Regions from separate parts of the Homo sapiens genome. Here all the other regions are linked to region 2. The links are contacts of gene promoters, found by promoter capture Hi-C in blood cells and fetal thymus (Javierre and others, 2016). All regions are on one chromosome and are shown on one strand. The core of a region is centred on a gene start or on the middle of the fragment in contact, and the rest is flanking DNA. Distances in the headings are between cores, read along the strand shown. Region 1 overlaps LOC124903162. Region 2 holds the start of FOXO1 (forkhead box O1). Region 3 has its middle 140 kb from the start of LINC00332. Region 4 overlaps LOC124903162.

Region 1 (2,700 bases), core at 135-2,634, 520 kb after region 2:
GAGCTGGGATTCAAACCCACGTCTCCTTAATTTCAATCCTGCTTCCTTAGGTGCAGGGAGTGCTACCTGTAATAAGGAGGCCCAGGGAAGGAGATTGCTCTTGGCCTTCCATGTAACAAACCCAGACATAAGCTTTAGTCTGTGCTGCTTCTGTTGTTTTTATTATGGCAGTGACAAGCTCAAGGGCAATTCTTAGGGAGGCTGTTGAGTCCTGCCTGGGAGATGGTAAGGAGCACGGGCTCCAGAGGCAGATTGCTAAGGCCCAGCTTTTCACTTCCACACGCTTGCTGCGCGATGTGGGGATAATACTGGTACCTAGCTCATCATGCTGTAAGGAGTATATGCAAGTATATAAGGAGTATTTAAATCAGTCTTACAAGTAATGATGATAGTAGTAGTAGTGATGATGATGATGATGATGATGCGATGATGGCAGCTTGCTCCATGTCAAGTACTGCTCAAGTGCCTTATGCAGAGTAACACACTTACCCCTCACATCAACCCTCTGAGGTAGGTGCTGTGATTTTCCCCTCTCAGGGGTTGAGAGAACTAAGGCACAAAGCGACGAGGCAGCTTGCCTGAGTGCACACATCAGGGAAGTGGTGGAGATGAGGTGCAGACCCAGGCGGCCCTGCTTTAGTGTGTGGGACATCCTGCTCTACCATGTGCCAGGCAGAGCTACTTTGTCTGCCCCGCTCCCTCACCCTCACTTTTATGTCTGGGTGGGGTCTTTATGGCTTCACTCTCATGCCTCTCATTCACTTTCTCCCCTTCTCTCCTCTCTCCTCCTCTTCCGTTCTCCCTCCTTTTTCTCACTCTCTCTTCTTTCCAGTCCCCAGTTGTCCTCTGTCTCTAGAACCTGCGGTTGCTGCAAGGTTGCCTCCAGGTAATGGAGCTGTTGCTGCTAGGTGTGTCTTGCCCCCGCTGCATGGCCGCTACCCCCATAGCCACGCCTGCTCCTGAGCTCATCTGCTGCAGAGCATTAGTTGCTACCTTGCCACCCATTAAGCCCATGTATCATAATTGTACATTTTTTTGGTTGAAAGCCAAATGATGAAGCTAATAAGGTTCATGCTGGGAACAGATGTTCTTACTTCTGCCCAGATGCTGTACATGACAAGGACTTGCTGGCGCTTGGTGTCAGCGAGACTCTTGTACTCTCATTTGAAGTGTTTCTGGCTGAAGGGTTCTTAGGAAGGGCTGAAAAGTCATGCTGTCCTTATATGCAGGAGCTGGGCACAGGTCTTGAGGGGTAGGAGGTAGTCATCCTCGGTACTTTATAATCCATCTGCTTCATGAGGACATCATCCCATGCCTATTTGCAAACTGCCTTTGTTTGCATTTTATAATGACGCATTCAGATTTTTGCTTTTCTGGTTGTTTCAATCTCAAGCTAATTGGCAGTGAACAATTCTTCCATTTTCTGCTTTATTTCCTCATCTCTCCCTACTTGGAAATCAAGAAAAGTTTTTTTTCTCCTCTCATTAAGAATCTTAAATGATTATGCTAATATCATTCATTCATTCAATGTTTATTGAGTGCTTTCTATGTATAAGGCACTGGGATGTAAAACCGGATTTCTTCTTTTACGGCATTTACATTCTAGTCAGGAGAGATAATAAACAAATAAATAAACAACCTAATTTCAAATTAGAGGAGTGCTGTGAAGGAATGAAACAAGAGGATGAGAGAGAGAGAGAGAGAGAAACTAGGGCATAAAGTTTACTTTATATAATGTAGTCAAGGAAAGTATTTCTGAGGAGGTGACAGTTAAGCCGAGGTGAGGAAAGAACATTCCAGCAGGGACTGGCAAGTGCAAAGGTCCTGAGGTAGGGAAGAGCTGGGGAGCTGAAGGCACAGGCAGAAGGCCAGTGTTTTGGGTGCACAAGAGGAAGCAAGGGGAGGCAAGATGAAGTGAGGCAGGGACCACATCTTGTAACACCCTCAGGCTTCGTCTTCCACCCCTTGCATAATTTCTAAAGTCAGTCCGCAAAGGATGACTAACTAGAAATCATTCCCTGGGATTTGTTTTTGAGTTCTGGTCTCCTTCCTGAACCACTCGACAACTAGTTTGTAGCAGTCTGCCCTTCACCAGCTCTCTTCACATGCACTTTGTCCTAAGGGCTATGATGCAGAAGGAGAATAATATAAACTTACCTATATAAGCCATAGATGGATTTCTTTAAATCGAGCTTCCAGACTGTGGTTAAATTGGCCCGCAGCCACAGCTGGCATTTCAAAGTATCATGCCAGGGTTCCAGCACCGTCCTTGTTAATAAATTATCTTGATACAGAGATAAAATCTTGCTGCTTGACTTACATTGCAACGCATACACACAGACAGGGGAAATGTGTGAGTTTTAATAGCATTGTTGAAGCCAGGGAGGTGTGTGATGATGACGGCATACTCTGACTCCTGACAGCTCCTCCTGCTCCCGCGAATTTGCTCCTCATTCATCCCACTCTGAACAGGCAGAGCCTGGGGTTTCATCATGGAGTAGCTTGAAGTCGTCTGTGGCTACATGGTCAGCACCATACTGGAGACCCCCAGGCAAACCTGTGTGGTCCCAGTTCAGAAGCAGAGGCTGTGGTCTTTTCACAGAGCCCTGGGCCTTTTCAAGAACTGGCCAAGCTTCCCTGGGCACTGGCCACTGACCCAGCTTGGCTATAAAACCTGCGTTAAACCCGTCTTCAAAGATA
Region 2 (2,700 bases), core at 153-2,652:
TTTAAAACCCTACTGTCCATCTTCCATCCTAAGTGGTCCCATCTTTCTAAAAGGAAATGCCTTCCATATTCTTCCTAAAAAAGCAAAAGCATAACAAAACAAAACTGGAAAACTGTTTCTTCTGCTTGAGACACAAGGGCCATTATCTTCCCACCTTTGGCCCCACTGATCCTTGACAGGATGTCCTGGACCTGCAGCCCAGATGAGGAAAGGTGGGGTGTGGGTGGGGGGTTGACTGACACACACAGCAAGTAGCCTCAAGGAATTTGGGGGTGGGGCAGGCTGCGCCCCAAGGCTTTGGTCCTATCTCCCGCCCCCCTTGCGTTTTTACTTAACACCCGATCACTTCCGTTGCAAATAAAAAAGAAGTAACAAACAGCTAAATTTAATTAGGGATAAGTAATAAAATGACCTGGTTCTCTCTAACTGCGCTCCTGAGCCCTTCGCTGCCGGCCCTGGACTTAGTGGACGGAGCGGGAGATTCCCGCCCAGGGGAAGAGGTTCCCACGGAGGGCATGCGGTCGCGGGTGCCTTTGGATTCGTGTGTTCAGGGAGGCCAGATAATCTCCTCCCCGCGCCGGAGCCCCTGTTCCTCATTTCTAGCATTTTAAAAAAGGTCAAGAATACAGTGAATCCGGCTGGGGGCTGCCGGCTGGGTGACGCGCCTCTGGCTAGACCGAATGGCACAGGCTGAGCCCGGGGGTGCGGACCGGTGGGCACGGAGAAGGGTCCCTCGGCGCGGACTCGACTGCAGGAGCCGCGGCGCCGGGGGTGGGGGGCGTGTGCCGCTCGCGAGGGGGCCGGAGGACTTGACAGATCGCAGCGAAAGAAAACATTAAACCAAAACAAAACCCACCGATTCCCCACGTCGTTCAGCAAAGACATCGTGGGTGGAGCCAGGAGGGAGCGATTGAGTAGAATTCCTCGCGGCCGCCTCCGCCCGCCCACCCCGCGCCCCCGGCCCTCGGCCCCCTGCCCTGCCAGCCCGCCGGGCTCGGCCCGCAGCGGAGGTCAGGGAGCAGCGAGCGCCTCCTCCCACCCGGGCTTCCCGAGTACTCGGCTCTGCTGCTCCGTAGTAAACAAAGTGTCGCCGGCGCCTCCACGCTGGTTTGCTTCCTAGCAATCAAAACACTGAGAAGGCGAGAGAATCACAGAAACACTCGAGAATTACCAGAAAATAATAGAGATCCAAAAAAAAAAAAAGGAGGTGAGTGTGTGAAAGAGAAAAACACCCCACTACCCCCCACCAGCCCACCGCCGCCTCCCCGTGGAAAACCGGGCCCCACCCAGCCCGGCGCCCACTGGCTGCCCGGGCGGCGGTGCCGCATGCCCATTGGCCGCGCGGGCTGTCGGTCAGGGGCGGGCCGGCGCGCGCGCCGCCGCGGGCGGGGGGCGGCGGCAGATCCCGTAAGTCGGGCGGCCTGGTAGTCGCAGCAGCCGCTGCCGCAGCCGCCACATTCAACAGGCAGCAGCGCAGCGGGCGCGCCGCTGGGGAGAGCAAGCGGCCCGCGGCGTCCGTCCGTCCTTCCGTCCGCGGCCCTGTCAGCTGGAGCGCGGCGCAGGCTCTGCCCCGGCCCGGCGGCTCTGGCCGGCCGTCCAGTCCGTGCGGCGGACCCCGAGGAGCCTCGATGTGGATGGCCCCGCGAAGTTAAGTTCTGGGCTCGCGCTTCCACTCCGCCGCGCCTTCCTCCCAGTTTCCGTCCGCTCGCCGCACCGGCTTCGTTCCCCCAAATCTCGGACCGTCCCTTCGCGCCCCCTCCCCGTCCGCCCCCAGTGCTGCGTTCTCCCCCTCTTGGCTCTCCTGCGGCTGGGGGAGGGGCGGGGGTCACCATGGCCGAGGCGCCTCAGGTGGTGGAGATCGACCCGGACTTCGAGCCGCTGCCCCGGCCGCGCTCGTGCACCTGGCCGCTGCCCAGGCCGGAGTTTAGCCAGTCCAACTCGGCCACCTCCAGCCCGGCGCCGTCGGGCAGCGCGGCTGCCAACCCCGACGCCGCGGCGGGCCTGCCCTCGGCCTCGGCTGCCGCTGTCAGCGCCGACTTCATGAGCAACCTGAGCTTGCTGGAGGAGAGCGAGGACTTCCCGCAGGCGCCCGGCTCCGTGGCGGCGGCGGTGGCGGCGGCGGCCGCCGCGGCCGCCACCGGGGGGCTGTGCGGGGACTTCCAGGGCCCGGAGGCGGGCTGCCTGCACCCAGCGCCACCGCAGCCCCCGCCGCCCGGGCCGCTGTCGCAGCACCCGCCGGTGCCCCCCGCCGCCGCTGGGCCGCTCGCGGGGCAGCCGCGCAAGAGCAGCTCGTCCCGCCGCAACGCGTGGGGCAACCTGTCCTACGCCGACCTCATCACCAAGGCCATCGAGAGCTCGGCGGAGAAGCGGCTCACGCTGTCGCAGATCTACGAGTGGATGGTCAAGAGCGTGCCCTACTTCAAGGATAAGGGTGACAGCAACAGCTCGGCGGGCTGGAAGGTGAGTGGACTCGGCGCGCGGCCGGACCTTGGGGGCGCGGTGGGTCAGGCGAGGGCGCAGCTGTGCAGGTTTGCTCGGCCTGAAGGTGCGGAGCAGGAGGGCAGCGCGTTCCCAGGAGGGCGGGCGAGAAGCGGTGGTCGCGGTGGCCTCGCCCGGGTCCGGTCGGGGACGGCAGTAGGTGTGCGTGCGCGCCAGTCAGGAGTTCGCGTGGGACGCGGTAAGGGGCTCGTTGGGGAACTA
Region 3 (2,700 bases), core at 77-2,576, 620 kb after region 2:
AAAACACTTTATCATGATAAAATGGGCAACTCACCAAGAATATATAACAATTCTAGATTTATGTTTCTAAAAACATAGCCTCAAAATATATAAGGAAAAAAATCACTGAATTAAAAGGGAAAGTAGATAAAGCCACAATCAGAGAACCAAATGTCAACCAGCGGACAAAAAGTTAATAAAGTATAGAAGATTTGCACATACTAAGTAACAAATTGACCCAATATCTGAAGAAATATTTACCAAAATGTAGACAACATACTGAGCTATAGAGCTTTCTTGTAAAAATTCAAATGATTGAAGTTATTCAGAGGTTTCATGTTCTCTGACTACACTAAAATGTGGGTAGAAATATACAAAATAAAGCAAATGAAAAAAGTGGAACTAGAAAATGAAAATTAGAACATATTTTAAACTGAACCATAATGAGAATTATATATATCAAAACTTGTATGCAGTTGAAGTCATTCTTAGACTTTCAAATATATGTAGTTGAAAAAGAAATATCAAAATTAGTGATCTGAGTATCTATCTCAGAGAGTTAGATATAATAAAACCAAATAAAATGGAAGGAAGGAAATAATAAAGATAAGAACAAAAATCAATGAACTAGAAAGCAAATGTGCAACAGATTCAACAAAGCCAATATATTAAATTTTTTAAGACGAAGAAAATATATAAATTCCTAGCACAACTGATTAAGAAGAAGTAAGACATGGTGCAAATTATTCTTATCAAGGGCTGAATGAAGGAACTTTGCCACAGAAATTACAAACATTGAAAAGATAGTAAGGTGATATATAAACATATTTATGCTAATTATTAATTAATGTGAAAATTTATATGAAACAGACAAATTTTTAGAAACACACAATTTCCCAATACTGATAGAAATGGAAATTTCTAAAATCTGAAGGTTCCAATATTTATTTTTTTGAAATGAAACTTAAAAAAAATAGATAGTATTGTGTGTATTTGAGGTTCACAACAATGCTATGGGATATTAATACATATAAATAGTAAACTGTTACTAAAGTGAAGCAAATTAACAAAGCTATCATCTCACATGGTTACTTTGTGTGTGTGTGACAGGAGCAGCAAAAATCTACTGATTTAACCAAAATGTCTAATACAATACAATTTTGTTAACTTTAGTTCTCATGTTGTACATTGTTTCTGTAGACTTGTTCATCCTAAATATTTGGATATAAAGAAATGGAATCTTAATACAGATAATGATGATGATGACATTTGGAGAACCTCTTAGACCCTGGCTTCAATTTTTTTAGATCATGGGATTTTTTTGTTAGCCTAACGTCTTGTTCTCTCCCCATCCCTTATTTATTTGTCCTGACTGCAGAAAGTATTACCTGACGGAGGAGTTGGGAGAAAGAACTGGGCATGCTCAGTTCGGTCATCTCTTTCCTGTTTTCAGGTCTGACTTCCAGCAAAGAGGAGCTTTCTGGGCTCTCTGCACGTAATAATTTGCTTGCTCTTCCTGAGAAAACCTGCAATTGTTCAGTGATATCTGTAAGTGGGAGGACATGTTGTCTTTTTGGACAAAATATTAGCAAGGGTAAAGATCTGAGGTATTTCCTTTGATTGCCTTCATCAATAATAAAAGCAATATTTTGAGATTCATCTGGCTTATTCCAATGTCTATCTCTCAATTCTATTCCAGCTTGGGAAAGTAAGAAAGTAGCATTATTTATTCATTTTTTAAACTTTCAATAAGTAGGTAGCTCCACTTTCACATCTGAAAAATGGGGTTAATAATATTATTAAGTGAGTTAATATGTATAAGGTGTTTAGAACTTTGCCTGGCAAATAATAAGCACTTAATAAATATTAGTTACTGTTATTTGTGTTAAATTACTGCATGCCAGAACTGGGCTAAATCCTTTACACTGCATCTTCTTGTATAACATTGAGAAGAAATCTCTAAGGTGCACACTGATTACTCTTAGGTTACAGAGGAGGAAGCTGCAACTTGGGGAAGTTAAGTCACCTTGTTGAAGGTCACACATTTTGTAAGGTCTAACTTCAAAGTGCATAGCTGTCTTTTGCAAACACAAGCCATTGGTGATAAGTGGGAGAAACAAGAGAGAGAAAACCATTTGTGACAAATTTGTCACTACTACTGGAGAAGAAATTTAGAGTGCAGTTCCTACTGATGATTAGCCAACTAACAGCATCGAGTCCTGAGAAAAGGACAGTTAGTTTCTCATGATCTTTAGAAGGACCCAGTTTAACAAGAGTTAAATCCAAGTTGATGTTACATGTTCATGGATCATCAAGCATGCCCAAGAGTATTCTTGAACAATTTAAATATCACACCATTACCACTGAAAAGATTTGGGTCTTTGCCAAATGTTTGGAGCTCCAACTCCAGTTCTTTTGGTGCTTTATCTCCTTCATGAGAAAGTCTGAAGAACCCTATCCCTCAGCATTCCAGTGCGGCTTAAGTTACACCACTCCACTCTTAAAAATGGTTTCAAAATCACTTAGCCTTTTCTCTCCTCTCCAGTAATCTGGGCTAGCCAATACCTTTCTTTTCAGCATTAACAGCCTTGCAGTCAGGCTTACTGCACGTGCTTCTCCTAATCATTCCTGAAGAGGAGAAGAAAAGATCTTTTAGGAAAGAATATACGCTATTTGAAGCAGATCTTGGATCAGTGCTTGGTGGAGAAAACATGAGTTGTT
Region 4 (2,700 bases), core at 70-2,569, 580 kb after region 2:
TTTTGCTTATTCTCTTTCATCCACTGTTGTGCTGCCTCACTGGTGCCCCTCTCTATCCCATCTCTCCCCTACCTTCCCACCTACGCCCTCCCAGACCTCCAGGGAGAAAGAGAAGAGAGACATTTGAAATACTCTTCACTTCATCCTAAAGAGGTGAGCCACTTGCCAGTGGGTTCTAAGGAAACTTGAGGTTTGTGCCAGGGTAGGGTCACTGTCATCATCAGAGTGCAGGGAGTAGCAGCAAGTTGGGATTCAGCCAGCTCTAAACTCCTTGCTCTCTTTCGGACACAGGGCCTGAGAAGGGGAACTCAGTGTGATATGTCATGGTGCACACACAGCACTTGTCCCATCCCCACTTCCATGTTCTCTCTAGGCTCACTAACCCTGCACTCCATATTTCTGGGCCTCAGTTTCCCATACAGGCACTTCAGGGCCTCGAAAGGTCTGCGGGCAAGGGTGCCTTGGGAGGATGCGGTCCATTTTGTTTTGTGTGACTATTACAGAACCACACGAGGCGCTCTTTCGGCTAGGCCATGTGCCAGAAAGAGAAGAGAGAGTCTAGTCAGGATATTTAACTTATCATGGTCACAGCAGGAATTTTTCCTGCTGCAAACTTCCTAACATTCTGACCCTTCTGGTCTGAACATTTCCAAGGCTGTTCCTATGCCAACCGAAAAACATTCCACAATCTATGTTTCTTGTGCAGTATAGCAGTGGGCTTTTCAGTACCAGGAAGACGTATGAAAGGTTTGATTTATTGCCCATTCTTTTGTGTGGGAGAGTCTAGTGATTTCAGATATAACAACAGAACTCTGTGAGATGCTGAATTGCCCAGGGAGTGCTCAACTGCCCCGTGTCTTCACTTGGGAGGGTGTCAATCAATCATTCCTGGATACCTGACCAACATGGACGATATCATGCAGTTAATCTCAAAACAAAATATCCAGGTGTTTTCAGTTGTGTAGTCAACATACCCAAATGCTCCTCTGAAATACACCATTGTATTAGTAAGTCAGCTGCTTGGTTTCATGTCACCATAGCCTGACTATTCTGGACAAAATTCTGACCTTTGTTTTGTCTTTTATTTTATTTTTTTATAAATCACTCCTGTGTTTATGTTTGCAGGGAGAGAAAATCTTTTTCTGTCTGGTGTTTTTCAAAATTTTGATGATGGACTCACATCAAGGATGAAGAGCTTTGATGTCATTTGAACACCACCACCATCACCACCACCAGCATCAACAAACAAACAAGCAAACAAGCGTGAACTCAGGAGCCCTGTGGCCCAGCCTCCAGTCCATTTCCTCACTGTGATCTGGCTAAGTCACCTCCCCTCCACCTCAGTTCAGTCACCTACACAACAGGAATGGTGGCTCCTGGCGTGAAAAGTTCTTAGGAGCATTCAGCATGATGCTGTGTGGAGCACTTGGAAACTGCGTGTGCATCACCTCATATTTCTGGCCACAGGTCATTCAGACATCTGCCCTTTGCCCTGGAGGAGAACCACTAGGGACTTGTGCCCATAAGCACCAATTCTGGCTTTTACCCTACCCATCCTTTGCCATCCCAAACTATGCCATCAACAAATTCTAGAAATCAAGTTAGAAATGCTGTTCCCACGAGGGTCTCTGTGGTCTCTCAGAACAACAATCAGCTGGCCCTGCTGGGCAGATGTTGCCCAATCCTAACCCACACTTAGCTATCAACTTAATCATTCTCAACTAAAAACACCTACCTGAACACTTTTAGGGGTTAAGAATAGTATAATCTCACTTAGCCATTTGCATTTTTTCTTCTTTTTACAAAAAGAAATTTATCTTTTTTTTTTTTTGAGACGGAGTCTTGCTCTGTTGCCCAGGTTGGAGTGCAGTGGCGCAATCTTGGCTCACTGCAAGCTCCGCCTCCTGGGTTAGCGCCATTCTCCTGCCTCAGCCTCCCGAGTAGCTGGGACTACAGGTGCCTGCCACCACGCCTGGCTAATTTTTTTGTATTTTTAGTAGAGACGGGGTTTCACCGTGTTAGTCAGGATCGTCTTGATCTCCTGACATCGTGATTCGCCCTCCTCAGCCTCCCAAAGTGCTGGGATTACAGGCGTGAGCCACTGCGCTCTGCCAAGAATAGTATAATCTCACTTAGCCATTTGTATTTTTTCTTCTTTTTACAAAAAGAAATTTATCTCATTATTATGTTTAATCAGTTTCTTGAGGTATAACTTAAGTGTGCTAAAATTTGCTCTTTTTAGTGTACAGGTCTAGGATTTTTGAGAAACACATATTCATATGTGACCACCCCCATGATCAACATATGGAACAGTCATTTGCCACCCAAAATTACCTTGTGCCCTTTTGTTGTCAGACTCTTCTTTCTCCAGACCCTGGCAACCACTGATGGATTTTCTGTCCCTATAGTTTTGCCTTTTCCAGAATGTTCTGCAAATGTAATCATTTAGTATGTAGCCTTTTAAGTCTGATTTCTTTCACTCTGCATAATGCATTTGAGATTCACCCACGTTGTTACCTGTTACAATGGTTTGTTCCTTTTTATTGCGGAGTAATATTCCCTTGCATGGATGTACCACAGTTTGGGTAACCATTCAACAGTCAAATGAGATTGAATTTGTTTCCATTTTTTGGTGATTATAAATACAGCTATAAACATTTGTGAAAGTGTTTTGTATGTACATACATTTTTCTTAGACAT

What was found. Contacts are between HindIII fragments. The CHiCAGO score rates a contact against its expected background, and 5 or more counts as called.
Region 1: a contact is called between a fragment that was not itself captured here and the fragment with the promoter of FOXO1 in region 2, in 2 of 17 cell types (M0 macrophages and activated CD4 T cells). The highest score is 6.8, in M0 macrophages.
Region 3: a fragment that was not itself captured here is called in contact with the fragment with the promoter of FOXO1 in region 2 in 9 of 17 cell types (activated CD4 T cells, total CD4 T cells, M2 macrophages and 6 more); the score reaches 9.7 in activated CD4 T cells.
Region 4: a contact is called between a fragment that was not itself captured here and the fragment with the promoter of FOXO1 in region 2, in 17 of 17 cell types (naive B cells, activated CD4 T cells, monocytes and 14 more). The highest score is 12.8, in naive B cells.

What each region holds. Positions count from the first base shown.
Region 1 is chr13:40,141,672-40,144,371 of GRCh38, reverse strand. All of the region lies in intron 1 of LOC124903162, which reads left to right. Among named protein-coding and RNA genes, the nearest start is that of LINC00332, 39 kb to the left of the region's middle. The HindIII fragment of the contact is 2,500 bases long and covers 135-2,634 here.
Region 2 is chr13:40,665,343-40,668,042 of GRCh38, reverse strand. FOXO1 (forkhead box O1) reads left to right here and starts at 1,402. Exons shown (of 3, transcript NM_002015.4): 1 at 1,402-2,460. The coding sequence starts at 1,831. RefSeq lists an enhancer at 514-563 and silencers at 1,214-1,743, 1,974-2,113, 2,204-2,253. The HindIII fragment of the contact is 11,472 bases long and covers 1-2,700 here.
Region 3 is chr13:40,043,726-40,046,425 of GRCh38, reverse strand. No RefSeq gene overlaps it. Among named protein-coding and RNA genes, the nearest start is that of LINC00332, 140 kb to the left of the region's middle. The HindIII fragment of the contact is 4,479 bases long and covers 1-2,700 here.
Region 4 is chr13:40,080,742-40,083,441 of GRCh38, reverse strand. It overlaps LOC124903162, which reads left to right. Exons shown (of 5, transcript XM_047430821.1): 5 at 1,126-2,700. The coding sequence ends at 1,191. Among named protein-coding and RNA genes, the nearest start is that of LINC00332, 100 kb to the left of the region's middle. The HindIII fragment of the contact is 3,641 bases long and covers 1-2,700 here.